5 separate regions of the Homo sapiens genome follow, and all the other regions are linked to region 4. The links are contacts of gene promoters, found by promoter capture Hi-C in blood cells and fetal thymus (Javierre and others, 2016). All regions are on one chromosome and are shown on one strand. Each heading gives the region's core, a stretch centred on a gene start or on the middle of the fragment in contact. The rest is flanking DNA. Distances are from core to core; before and after follow the strand shown. Region 1 overlaps FAM13B (family with sequence similarity 13 member B). Region 2 overlaps FAM13B (family with sequence similarity 13 member B). Region 3 has its middle 42 kb from the start of HNRNPA0. Region 4 holds the start of PKD2L2 (polycystin 2 like 2, transient receptor potential cation channel). Region 5 has its middle 55 kb from the start of MYOT.

What was found. Contacts are between HindIII fragments. The CHiCAGO score rates a contact against its expected background, and 5 or more counts as called.
Region 1: a fragment that was not itself captured here is called in contact with the fragment with the promoter of PKD2L2 in region 4 in 1 of 17 cell types (total B cells); the score reaches 5.9 in total B cells.
Region 2: a contact is called between a fragment that was not itself captured here and the fragment with the promoter of PKD2L2 in region 4, in 2 of 17 cell types (naive B cells and total B cells). The highest score is 6.5, in naive B cells.
Region 3: a contact is called between a fragment that was not itself captured here and the fragment with the promoter of PKD2L2 in region 4, in 3 of 17 cell types (M2 macrophages, M1 macrophages and naive B cells). The highest score is 9.3, in M2 macrophages.
Region 5: a contact is called between a fragment that was not itself captured here and the fragment with the promoter of PKD2L2 in region 4, in 4 of 17 cell types (M1 macrophages, naive B cells, total B cells and 1 more). The highest score is 6.8, in M1 macrophages.

Annotation. Positions count from the first base shown.
Region 1 is chr5:138,015,833-138,018,553 of GRCh38, reverse strand. It overlaps FAM13B (family with sequence similarity 13 member B), which reads left to right. Exons shown (of 24, transcript NM_001385994.1): 4 at 40-252. Among named protein-coding and RNA genes, the nearest start is that of FAM13B-AS1, 16 kb to the left of the region's middle. The HindIII fragment of the contact is 4,772 bases long and covers 1-2,721 here.
Region 2 is chr5:137,985,554-137,988,253 of GRCh38, reverse strand. It overlaps FAM13B (family with sequence similarity 13 member B), which reads left to right. Exons shown (of 24, transcript NM_001385994.1): 9 at 638-793. Among named protein-coding and RNA genes, the nearest start is that of FAM13B-AS1, 46 kb to the left of the region's middle. The HindIII fragment of the contact is 531 bases long and covers 1,067-1,597 here.
Region 3 is chr5:137,794,967-137,797,666 of GRCh38, reverse strand. No RefSeq gene overlaps it. Among named protein-coding and RNA genes, the nearest start is that of HNRNPA0, 42 kb to the right of the region's middle. The HindIII fragment of the contact is 2,436 bases long and covers 84-2,519 here.
Region 4 is chr5:137,888,207-137,890,972 of GRCh38, reverse strand. PKD2L2 (polycystin 2 like 2, transient receptor potential cation channel) reads right to left here and starts at 1,516. Exons shown (of 15, transcript NM_001300921.2): 1 at 1,451-1,516; 2 at 391-492. The coding sequence starts at 1,481. It overlaps PKD2L2-DT (PKD2L2 divergent transcript), which reads left to right and starts at 1,654. Exons shown (of 4, transcript XR_948815.3): 1 at 1,654-1,826; 2 at 2,685-2,766. The HindIII fragment of the contact is 1,963 bases long and covers 166-2,128 here.
Region 5 is chr5:137,811,706-137,814,435 of GRCh38, reverse strand. No RefSeq gene overlaps it. Among named protein-coding and RNA genes, the nearest start is that of MYOT, 55 kb to the left of the region's middle. The HindIII fragment of the contact is 208 bases long and covers 1,196-1,403 here.

The sequences.
Region 1 (2,721 bases), core at 211-2,710, 130 kb before region 4:
CATTGCAGCTTATTGAATGATTGCCTTGAACTAACGTAGGAGGTCTGGAGCAACAAGGACTTTTTCAAGTCAATGGAAATGCTGAGACAGTGGAGTGGCTTCGGCAGAGATACGACAGCGGAGAAGAGGTGGATTTGGTTAAGGAAGCAGATGTTCCCTCAGCTATTAGCCTTCTTAGATTTTTTCTTCAAGAACTTCCTGAACCTGTTATCCCTGGCAGTTTACATATTCACTTGATGCAGCTTTCTCAAGGTAACATAATTTGATACTTATCAATTGGTCATTTGTTGTTAATTTCCTAGTCTTTACCTTTTAGAAATCTTGACATGTAAACAGTAAGTATAGTATTTTAGAGATTAATTTGTTATTTTCTCATTTGCTTTTTGGGGTTGTATGATCTTGTCATAGGAAAGGCAACTTCCGGGATCCCTCTAGTACTATTTACTTTTTGTGATTGGTTTTATTAGCCTAAGAAACAGGGTGAAGAAGAGGAAAGGGAGGAGACAAGAACAAGGAGTAGGAGGGGTCATCAAAAAGAAAGAAGAGAAATTTATGTAAGGTAATGTGTGTGGTGGCACAATGTCCAATAGTAGCCAAAGGTGTTGCTTAGTGGTGATATTACCACTATTAGGGTTACTTATCCCTGGTTTGATAGAATTTCCTAGCAAAAGGAAGAAGACAACTTTGATTCTAGGCTTTGAATATACCTAAAACTTGTTCTTGAACACTTAGCTAAAGGAAATGAATATCAAATTGAACATTAGACTCTAAGCTAAAGAAACAAAAAAAGATGTATCTTTGTTAGGTTTTTTTGGTGGTGACTAAAAAGTAGTGCTTAGCTAGAGTGGAACAGGAACAGGAAAAATAATGGTAGAGGCAGCAGAAAGGTCAAAGAACCAAGAAGTGAGGAAATGCTTCTGTTCCTAGAGCCAAATGGTATTCATGTATATGTAATGGAGGGACATGCTTCATTATATAGGAAAATGTGTAAAGTTGGCATATAGAGTTATATATTTCTTGAATTTTAAAATTACCCTTTCAGGCTTTTTTGGTATTATGGAGTTCATTTATTTTTTGAATCGGGGCTTCTAAAGAAATTCAGTTATGCTAAGAAATTATAACTACTTCCTTTATGCCTATCTCTATCACAGCTGGGCATTCTATAATATGTGTGTATATATCCTTAAGTATTATGTTGTCAGAGAAGGTATATTTTCTTTCGAAAGTGTTTATCCGTCTTTTTCTTAAATTTTAAACTGTGAGCCTAAGTTAGTTGGATGTCTTTGATTTATGTATAAAGGTCAATGCAAAGACGTTCTGTGACCCTCTTACACATGTTTTCTGTACAGCTAAATCATAAGGCTTACTTTGAACTTGCTATATTCAGGAAGGGGTAACCTGATTCAGTTCTGTTCTTTTACTCTATAATCTGGATCAAAAAACAGGTTTTAAAACGAAATGTTATTAGTAAGGCTACCCTTTTTTCAATGCATCACTTTAATTTTTCTCCCCCCAAAATTACGCTTTTTTGTTTTGAATTTTTGAATCCATTTTATTATTACAGGAATTTTTTCAAATGTTTATGTTGAGACACATAATAAGCATTTTGCATTTATTAAATATGAACCGAAACCAATATGGTAAAGGTTTTTTGAGCCTTTTAAAATAACTCTAGAGCCATTCTCTTTATAGTGATAGGTTTCCATGTTCCCTCTGTTAGCTGAATTGCAGACACATATTTAAAGTTCCAAGAGTCAGATAATCTTTCAGTCCTGAATGAAAATTTATAAATTAATAATTGCAGTGAGATTTAATGGAAGCAAAGTCATTGACTCACTGGTAGAATCTATCAGAAGCTATTTATTTTTCACTAGGATTGTCATTTCAGTTGGTTTTCATTTATTCGTTGTTGTTGTTTTTTTGAAATGTCCTTGCTCTGTCGCCCAGGCTGGAGTGCAGTGGTGTGATCCTAGTTCACTACAGTCTTGATCTCCAGGGCTCAAGTGATCCTCTCGCCTCAGCCTCTTGAGTAGCTGGGACTACAGGCGCGCACCACCATGCCTGGCTAATTTTTTAAAATTTTTTATGTTTTGTAGAGACAAGATCTTGCTATGTTGCCCAAGCAGGTCTTGAACTCCTGAGCTCAAGTGATCCTCCTGTCTCAGTTTCCCAAACTGTCTCAGTTTCCCAAAGCACTGGGATTATAGGAGTGAGCCATTGTACCTGGCCTGGTTTTCATTTAAAATTATGACAGCATCATGTACTGTTGGGACAACTAAGTTCCTCTTCAAAGACACAACTTTCTGGTCATAAATTGTAAACCAATCCTACCCCTTCTTTTCTTTCAAAAATTGCGCATTTACCCTATTTGAAAAAGTTTCAGTCTTAGCCATGGCCTGGTTTTCATTTAAAATTATGACAGCACCATGTACTGTGTTGATATTCATGGAATTACAATACGCATCTTGTTACTTATTCTTATGCTAACATTCACTTGTGAAGGAATTTAAGATATGCAAAAATTTGCAAAAGAGATGTGCAAAAAAAAGCAAAAATGCTTATGGTCAATAAGTGCTTTCATGTTTAATATGAGAAATTCACTGTTTTCTTCTATTTTCCACTTATACATAGATAATCATTAGCATGTGTATGTATGTGTGCACATATACACCCGTTTCTTTAATAGCTGTGCAGCTAGGTATGGTAGTATTTGGGGTGATA
Region 2 (2,700 bases), core at 83-2,582, 97 kb before region 4:
AGACAAATTTTTAAGATTTTAAAATACTACTAAGCTGTAGAAATGAAAATAATGTACTTGTGCTCACTTTAGAGGAAAGACTGTACACAGGCAGTAAACTAGTTTTTTATGTACTGTGATAGGAACAAATGAAGAAGAAACCCATTGCATTACTATACAAAATAAAGATGAGCTTTCTTCAGATGGTTTTTTTGAATCCTCTGAAATAATTGAAAAATGTTCATAGAATATAAGTTTTAAAAAAGTAGACTTTACATAAGAAGTGTGAGCAGTACTCATGGTTTCTTTCATTTTGCTGTTAGTAGGTTATTTTGCTTTATAAGTATAGCTTTGAAAAGCCTTATTTAGTGGTTTTCTGTGTAGTGAGGAGTGAATTATAGGGACAACTGATCTTTCCCATCCCAGTAATAATAGTGACATTATGGTTGATTTGTATATGATTGTCTGTTTGGGTAAATTTTACTTTTAAAACTTAAGCCAGTATCATGTATTCCTTTTATGTATTTCTTTTTACACTTTGGTTTACCCATTTAAGTACCATAATAGTTTTACTGGTCATAGGTTTTAGCATTTATGTCTGTGTCACCAGATATCCAGTTAGAGTGACTGCTTCTTACTAAAACGTGTTGTTTTGTAGTATTTTAGAAAGAACAATTAGAGCAGCTGTGGAACAGCACCTTTTTGATCTTCAGAGCAGCATAGATCATGATCTTAAGAATTTACAACAGCAAAGTGTGGTGTGTAATAATGAAGCAGAAAGTATTCATTGTGATGGGGAAGGATCTAATAACCAGTAAGAAACATTTTACTGTTGTTTATTAAATGTTATAAAATTGTTTTATCTTAAAACTGTATTGCTACTTAAATAACAGGATCTCATCTTTCTTGGAGATTTCTGAAAGTTGTTTGTGAAAAGTGACTTTGTATATATACTTGTATATACATCCATACTTAACACTGGATATCTCATCACTTTTTTCATAATATATGTTTTATTAAGTCCAATACAGGTTTGTTTGTTTTTTGTTGTTTTTTTTCCCCTGAACATCGAATGAAGTAACAAGCTTACCTTTAGGAATTATGTTGTATGAAAAATAACTTTAAAAAATTAGACTCTGCAACAGAGTGATCTAGACAGACAGTTACAGGGGCAGCAGATTGATATCACTATAGTGCATATAATCATTGAGTGAAATGGTGGGCAGAATCATCCTTTGCTATTTAAATAGTTATCCCTTCCCACCAGCCTCTCCCCTGCTTATGTTTTTGTTAGATTAACTCTTAATACAGGTTGAGCATCCCTAATCCAAAAATCCAAAATCTGAAGTGCTCCCAAATCCAAAACTTTGAGCACTGACATGATACTCAGAAGAAATGCTCATTTGAGCATTTTAGATTTTGGATTTTCAGATTAGGGATGCCAGTCTGGCACCTCTCCTTGGGATGTTGTGAGGGACCTTGTTTGTCATGCTCTCTGAAAATTTTCATAAGCAAATGAATGGCTTTTAAAATAATTTATGAGCCAGTTGCTAACTGGCAAATATTCCAAAATCTGAAAACAAACAAAACAAATCTGAAACACTTCTGGTCCGAAGCTTTTCCGACAAGGAATAATCAACCTGTATTTAAATGTGTATTAGTTAAAAGTACTTATAATGCATGATGTTACTCCACTCTTCATCTGACCTGTTACCTTTAAATGAAGGAAAGCCTCTCTTTGTTTTCTATTACTTCAGTCCTGTATTTCAGGATACCTGTGTGCCTCCCTCAGAGACCGTGGTGCAGTGATTTCATGTTTTTCATATATCAATTTTTTTTGGGGGGGGGAAGATGAGAAAAATGTACCCAAATCTAGAAGATTCATAGGAAGGTAAAGGAAAAAAAAAGATAATTGGGGAGTGGTTTTTTTTTTAAGACAGTTTTTAAAAGGGCTAACTAGAATAGCTATCAAATATAAAATGAAAAATGTAAATGGATGTGAAAACCAGTGCTGGGAATGTTTATTTTTGGAATACCATATAGTACAATTGCAAGCGTGCCATGGATGGCACTGCCAGCCAGTGCAGCTCTATTTGATGGCCTTGGTTTGTGTACTTTGAAGGCATGATTAGAATGCATACAACTGGGAAAAGGCGGGAGAGGGAAAGAAAAGAGAAAGAAAAACATTAAAAAAAAAAGCATGTATACAACTGGATCTATTGGGAGTATTTGGGCAGAATGTGAAGGAAAAAATCAGTATCTAAGTGTTAGAAATAGTGGGAAAATGTTTCAAAGGATGTAAGCAGATTTCTTGGAGTTTGTCCTTAGCTTAGCTAGGGATCCTGTAAACCTATACCCATTGCTCAGGTGATAGTCTTATTTTCACCACTGGGGAACACATGTTCTATTGAGGGTAGTGGTATCATCTTTGAAACAAAAACTGCAGTGTTTTGGATATTCTAAACTGTAAGATGACAACTCTGCAGTAGGAAGCTATTTCTGTTTTACTTGATAAGGTGTTGGACACTGTAGTGTCTAGTACTGGACTTGTATTTGATCAGGACAGATGTGTCATTATTATGTGAGAGTGTGCATTTACAAGGGAAATGATTATTTCGGCCCATAAATTATTTTAAAAGCTATTTATTCGCTTATGAACATTTTTAGAGGGGATAACATGGTCCCTCACAACATCCCGAGGAGACAAAAACATAGCAGATT
Region 3 (2,700 bases), core at 52-2,551, 93 kb after region 4:
ATCTTTAGTGTTCCTGCATAGTTTCTGGCACATAGCAAGTCTTTGGTGAATATTTGTTGAATGAATGAATAAATGAATAAGCTTAAACTCAAAATAAAATACAAGGGGAAAAGTTGAGATGCCTATTTAAAAATTTTTAAACTTTCTTGAAAAAAATCAATATATAAGTTAAGACACAAAAATGGAAATAATTATAAGAAATATGATGCAAAAGACAGTATTTTTCTTTATGAAGCATATATATGAATCACCAAGAAAATAGATTAGTATCTGTTAGTATGTATGGACAATTAACAGAAGGGCAAATAAAGACTAACAAATATTTGCAAAAAAAGGTTCTGTTTCACTAGTAGTCAGAGAAATAGAAAACAAAACAGCAATGAATTATTTTCATTTATCAGTTAATCAAATACTGGAAAAAAGTCATGAATACCTGATATATTGATAATGGAGGGTGAAAAGGGCACCTTATACATTATTGGTGGACATATAATGTAGAATACCTTATTAGAAAAAACTGGGGACAAACATTCAAGATATTTAAAAAATACTTATTTCCTTGGTTTCCATAGTCTAGCTGTACCCTAAGGAAATACTAGGAAATGCAGATAAAGATTTATAAATAAAGATATTCATCACAGTGTGATTATAGTAGTAAGAAACCAAAGATCATCCTAAACCTCCAACATTAGGGGAATGGTTAAGCAAATTAGAGGGTACTCTAAGTCTGCACATGACTTATGCAGCCCTTGCAAATGATATTTAGAAATAATAAAATATGAGAAATGTTTATGATATAAAGTTAAATGAAAAATGGATGGTATAAAATCATGATTCACAGTATGATCTCAAATATGCAGAGCAGTATACACAATAAGGGAAATATAACAATGTTAATAGTTTAGGGTTAGGATTATGGGTGACTTTCATACTTTATACTGTTTTATATTTTTGTAGTTTTTCAAGTTTTTTATAATGAACATATATTACTTTCATAATTGAAAAACAAGTTTTGTTTCTTTTTAAGCATACAGTGTTGGAGATATAGATCTCTCTGTCCTGTAATCGTTGGTGATAAAACTTAGTGAACAATAGGGTTCTGTTTGCCTCAAGTTAAAATTCACTGCTTTAATTGCAAAAGTTAATTTATAGGCCAGTAATCTTATACAGCAGGCAGTTTGGTTGATAAAAGTATCCAAAGAAAGAACTGAGCATCTGACTTTTCTTATCTCTCCAGAGCCCTTGTACCATTGATTTCTGCTCTCTCATTATATCGTGTGTTTTATTTTTAGTTATAAAATACGTTTTATTGCCTTTAATCTGATATACCTTTGTAAGCATGAATTAAGACATGAGATGATTTTCTGAAGCCATGTTTTTACCATATTAGGGAAAGTTAAGATTGAAAAATACGAGTAGTAGGTTCTAAACTCCCAGTCATCCATGTTATAATTAGTCAATTATTGCAGAAACTTGGTAGAGAAAGGTTTCCTGTTTTTTTTTCTCCCCCACTACAGCCATCTTTACTTCTGTCAATAACTCTTTTGACTTTGTTAACAGCTCTCTCATTATATACATTTAAAAAAGAAAAGCTGTTATCAATCTGCTCAAATTTTTTTTTCTTAGATTTCAGTAGATCCTGGATGAAATATTCCCTAAAGTTTAGAGTATCACCTTAAGACCTGGGTGACAGGGCCCCCTACTTTGGATCTTATACTTAAAGGATGCACATATCACAAATGTTTAAAACATAAGTGTCATTTAAGATCCAGCACTAAGTGGCATAGTACGATTTGTAATCCAAATGTCCACTGTAGTGACTAACACCATTCAGGCTCCAGATAACACTTTCCTCCATCTCTTCCCGTCTGCCATTGAAGCAAAAAGTGATTCTGTGTGAATGCCGTGAAGGTTATGGGCTGTTGATGCTGGTTATGGACACTGCTTTGGAGTATGGGGAGGATTTGAGTGACAGAAGTTCTTAGGTGAGGGAAAAGACAAATTAATTAGCACAAATGGAGTAGATTCTTGCACACTGAGGTATCATTTCCCAGGGCTGCTGAGCATCCATTTTCTTGTTTCTCTTTGTATTCCAGTATGTAGTTCTGGAGATATAAATTAGGATGATATTTGTAACAGTGGCTCATGGCAGTTGAGGAATATTTTGCAATGTTAAACAACTCATATTACTCTTAAATTTTATATATGAAGGTCCTGATATTCTGGACATTGGCCGTGGATGAGCCTTGAACTCTAGAATTGTGAGTAGTTCTGTTTTTGTAAAAATACATAATAGGACTTAGTTTTTTTAAAAATCACATTAAAGTTTAAACTTTATTATAATAAATTTACTTAAAATTTGGTAATTGCTAATTATAATTTGTATTTTGTCTTTGAATTTTTATACATAATTTTGAATATTTTAGAAAAAAGATAACATATGATAGCTGGGCACTGCAGCCATCCAACTTAGCCTGCCTCACCCACACCCATGTGGTACCTTCAGCCCTGGCCAAGCTTTGAGGCTCTGTCACTGAGCAATGGTGACTGCACATGGGCAGCTCTTCCTCCATCCCCCCAGCCTCAGCCCAAATTCTTACCTGAAAGCATCACTGCCCTGGCCCCTCCCTCCCGGCTACCCCTGCCACCTCTACTGTCTCCCCGCCCCGCCCCCCGCCCCTCCCCCCCGCCCACATCCTC
Region 4 (2,766 bases), core at 267-2,766:
TTTGGCCTCATTTGTACTTTGATTTATGAAACTCAGCTGATGTGTCTATATGACTCTAAACAAAATCAAATTGCAGTTGCCAACCCAAGGGATGAATTATGCTCAAGACAGAACTGCCAAATGAAAGGAATAATTCTAATTCAGTCAGTATTGACTATGGAAGCTTCTTACATTTGCGATGTAAAATTTTGCCCCTTAAGAACTGAAAATAGTCAATTTCTAAATGAAATGAATCTAAATGAATTTAAGATTATGTTTAAACGTGTCACTGTATTTTGAGTTTTAGTAGCCTGACAGCCTGTGGTTTTGAAGTTTGTATGTTTTATTTTTCATCTCCACATTTTAACTTCTTAGTTCAAACAAACAGCATCTTTATATCTGTGTACTTACATATACATAGGTTTATTAAAAAAATAAAGTAGAGTAACAATTCCTGAAGTGTGGTTGTAATTTCTACTTCCTTTCTGTAATGCAACTTATGTTTCGAAGCCCCTGTGAGATATAAGACAAAATTTTTCTTTACATTATTATGTAATTTATAAGTGACAACAATGGAAAAACCACAGCCACTTTTAGTCCTTACACTGCGGGGAGGAAAGCTCCAATAGCTTCTGGCTATTTTTCAATTCTTAGTTTTACGAGGCAGGGATAATTTTTTTACTATATACTATTAATAACAGATTTTTTTTTTGAGACGGAGTCTAGCTCTGTCGCCAGGCTGGAGTTCAGTGACGCGATCTCGTCTCACTGCAGCCTCCGCCTCCCCGGTTCAAGCGATTCTCCTGCCTCAGCCTCCCGAGTAGCTGGGACTACAGGCGCGCGCCACCACACCCAGCTAATTTTCGTATTTTTAGTAGAGATGGGGTTTCACCATGTTGGCCAGGATGGTCTCGATCTCTTGACCTTGTGATCCGCCCGCCTCGGCCTCCCAAAGTGTTGGGATTACAGGCTTGAGCCACTGCGCCCGGCCACTAACAGATTTTATATCATGATGTCTTCTCGCCAGTCTTAAGATGAAAAAGCAAAATACGAAACAAGTAAAACCTCTCATCTGTCCTAACCGTTTTCTCCACCCTCAATACAGCTTCTTGGGAAGGCTGGTTTCTGCTGGACAGGGGAAAAACACCTCGGCTTGAATTCTGTCAAGGTCACGACTCCCCAGATCAACCAAGGACTTTAGAGACCGGCCTAGCGACGGTCACTCGACAGGTGACAACGCCCAGCTCGAGCCTCCGGCAAGAGGCGAGCGCCACCTCGCTCAGGGCTTCAGTTTTCCCGTCTGTGCAATGGGACCATCTGTCCCTCTCCGCTTCCCCAGGGGAGGCTGTGAGGGCTAAAGGTGTCGGCAGTCACATCTCTCAAACGAATTTGGGGCCGCAGAGTTCCTTTCAGGGTGTCTGGAACTGCCAAATCGCCCCTGTCCCTCCCACTCCTTAAGAGGACCCCTCACCGCCTCGGTGCCACCGTGACGCCTCAGCCATGGCGGACCTGCACTACACCGCCCGTTCGTTCGCCTGAGGCCGCGGCGCTTGCGCGCTAGTCTTGCGGCGCGCGCTGCCCGGCTCTGACGCCTGCGCGAGCCCCCAGCTCCTCCAGGGCGGCGAGCTACTCGACAAGTCGTCAGCGCGGCTGCGCCGCAGGAGCCCGGGAGGCCTTTCGCCCGAGGCGGGCTGCGGGCTGCTGGGGTCTGGTGCGGAGGGCCAACTTCTGGGAATAACCTGGCTGTGGGCTTAAAAATCGTAGTCATTCATTATCACGGGCTTCTCTCTCTCGAATACCTTTAACATTTATCGCCTTGTTAGTCTCCACATCCACCTCCGTGAAAGGTAGGTATTTTTGTCCTCATTTTAGGCCTGAAGAAACCGAGAAGCTGAGAAATGAAGTAATTCACTGGAAGTTGGGGCCAAGTCTTGGATGCCCAAGCCCAAATTCCTAACCGTGACCCTACGCTGCTGCTGCTGCTGCTACTTGCAGAAACTGGTTATTAACCGAGAGCTGTTGCTGGAAGTAGCTTCCACTCCCCTGCCCCCGTGATGTAAAAATAGATGAAAAACTCTGCAGTGATTATGTGAAAGGTCAGGCCGACACAGGAGTCCTGGGGCCCAGACCCACATCTGACCCAGAAGCTTTGCAAAGATGAGAAGGTTGGTAAACCAGCTATAGAAAAGGCCAAACTAATTTGGCTGTAAATTAAGGCAGCCAAAAGCCCTCCAGGATGTAAGACCAGGACGGATTCTCGTGTTGATAAAAAGGAAAATAAAATGGAATCCAGTCCAAAGGCCCCAGGGAAACCTGCAAAGAAAACCACTAACCAGTTTTGAAAGTAAAAGATAAAGCCACTTTTGTTATTTCCCTGAAAGAGATGTAGACTGCTGTCGATAAATGCTGTTTTATGTGTAGATAAAAAGCAAAACGGCCACACAGTAGTGAGGGTCAAAAACTACCATCGATGAGAGGAACAGGAGAGGCCTCGCAAAAGGCTGACAGCCAGTGAACTAGAAGCCCGAGAGGAAAAAAAGCTTTAGAATAGTTTTAACAAAAGGATTTGGGCTTTCCTGTACTGGGACTCTCAGCTGTTCACAAAATTATGCTTTCTAAAGTAACAGATTATCTGAAATTGAAATTATTAGAGGAAAAACACCCATATATAGGTAATCAAATTTACATAATTTTTTTTTTTTTAGAGATGGAGTCTCGCTATATTTCCCAGTCTGGCCTCAAACTCCTGATCTTAAGGGATCCCCAGCTCAACCTCTCCCAGCAGCT
Region 5 (2,730 bases), core at 50-2,549, 76 kb after region 4:
TTAGGGATTCCTGGAAATAATCAGTCTTGAAATACTCCCCTCTTCTTCCTTCATCTAGGATGCTTCCTCTTCTCTCAATATATTCTCACTTATGGGTATAAAGGTAAGTTGAGTCCTCCTTTGATATTAACTCTGCCTTCAGTTACCCTTAACTTTCCTTTAGTCAGCTTTCAACCTAGCCTGAAGAGAAGCCTTTGGAACCCCTGTGTACATGTTGATGGGAATGTAAATTAGTACAGCCATTATGGAAAACAGTATGGAGGTTCCTCAAAAAATTAAAATTAGAACTACCATATGCTCCAGCAATACCATTCGTGGGTATATATCCAAAGGAATTGAAATCAGCATATCAGGGAGATATCTGTACTCTCATGTACGTTGCAGCATTATTCATAATAGCCAAGATATGGAATCAACCTAAATGTCCATCAATGGATGAATGGATAATGAAAAAATGTGACACACATACAGACACATACACAGATATATATACAATGGTATACTATTTGGCTTTTAAAAAGAAGGAAATCCTGTCATTTGCAACAGTATAGATGAACCTGGAGGACATTATGCTAAGTGAAATAAGCCGGGCACAGAAAGACAAATGCTACATGATCTTAGTTTTATGTGGAATCTTAAAAAGTCGAACTCATAGAAACAGAGAGTAGAATGGTGGTTACCAGGAGCTGAGGGGTGGTTGTGGAACTGGGGAGATACTGGTCAAAGTTTCCAAATTTCAGACAGAAGAAATGAGTACAAGAGATCTATTGTCTATCATGGTGACTGCAGTTAATAGCAATGTATTGGATTCTTGAAAATTGCTAAGAGAGTAGATCTTAAATGTTCTCACAACAGAAAGTGATAAGTATGTGAGATGATGGATATGTTAATTAGCTTGATTTAACCATTTCATAACATTATCCATATATCAAAACACATTGTTCACTGTAAATATATATAATTTTTGTCACCTATACTGTAATTTAAAAAAGTAAATTAAAAAAAGAAGGAAAGACTTCAAAACCAACACATTGAATTACTCCCCTGGTATATTGTAAATGCTTTAAAGCCTCAGCTTGGTTGTAAATTCTTTAAAGCTGTGTCTTGTACTTTTTCTATTCCAAATGCAGAGCTAAGTATATAGTAAGGGCTTAATATATTTTTCTTGATTTATTATTCTACAAAAAACAAAGCTTACAGGAAGAGAGATTGACTCTGTTTATTAGGCTGATGAACTATGCTGTTCAGGCAGAGAAGAAACTTAGGGGACTTGTTGCAAGAATGTTTTAGCATTTTCTCATTCAGCTCTGGTTTACTGGACAGACATATTCAGGATAGTTTACTAATTCTTTTAGGGCATAAACACTTATTCATTCCACTAATAGTCTTCTTTTCTAGAAGCTTTTAAAGATATGAGAAATTATTCTCAATCCAAAATGATTTGAGGTTGGGGGATAGGAGGTTTTTGGAGTGCTGGTTAGGGGAACCTGTTTCCAGGACTATCTGGCAAACATGAAAGTCCAGTCTCCACCCAAAGGACTATAAATCATGCTGCTATAAAGACACATGCACACGTATGTTTATTGCGGCATTATTCACAATAGCAAAGACTTGGAACCGACCCAAATGTCCAACAATGATAGACTGGATTAAGAAAATGTGGCACATATACACCATGGAATACTATGCAGCCATAAAAAATGATGAGTTCATGTCCTTTGTAGGGACATGGATGAAATTGGAAATCATCATTCTCAGTAAACTATCGCAAGAACAAAAAACCAAACACCGCATATTCTCACTCATAGGTGGGAATTGAACAGTGAGATCACATGGACACAGGAAGGGGAACATCACACTCTGGGGACTGCTGTGGGGTGGGGGGAGGGGGAAGGGATAGCATTGGGAGATATACCCTTCCCAATGCTCGCTAGATGACGAGTTAGTGGGTGCAGCGCACCAGCATGGCACATGTATACATACATATGTAACTAACCTGCACAATGTGCACATGTACCCTAAAACTTAAAGTATAATAATTAAAAAAAAAAAAAAAAAGAAAGTCCAGTCTCCTAAAAGGCTCATCTGGCAACTGGAGAGAGGGAGGTAAGACCTTATTTCATATACCAGCTTGTTCAACAATAGACCAAATTGATATGAATTATCCACAAACACTGCAAAAATAGAGGAAATAAAGGCTGATTTTCTGAAGTCTTTCCATGTTTCCTCTCATATAAAAGACTTTTACCCACAATACTTGGTTTATGTTTCCATTATACCTTCTTCTCGAAGTAGCTACTTATAGACTTGTGTTTGCCTACCTGTCAGAATGTAAGCCCCTTAAAGGTGAAGGCATGCATTAAAAATACATTTAATTCACTACTTTTTTGAGGTAAAAATAAACACAAGAAAGACTATTATTGATAGTTATACCATTTGCTCAAGAAAAGTTGAAAAGAAAAAACAAAACATCTTTATGGAAGGAAATTGCTCTTATCAAGGAAAGAATGCCATACTATTTAGTCATATACAGGAGATCTCTTCTGCATGTTCAGGGTGGAAGTCGGAATTAGAGGAGATTGGGTATATGTATGTGGGTGAGAGGAAGGAGGAATATTAGAATTTGATGCCCTTTCCTGCTTTTGGTGGTGTGTTAGTTTGTTCTGAGTTGCTATAAAGGAATACCTGAAGCTGGGTAATTTTTAAAGAAAAGAGGTTTATTTGGCCCAT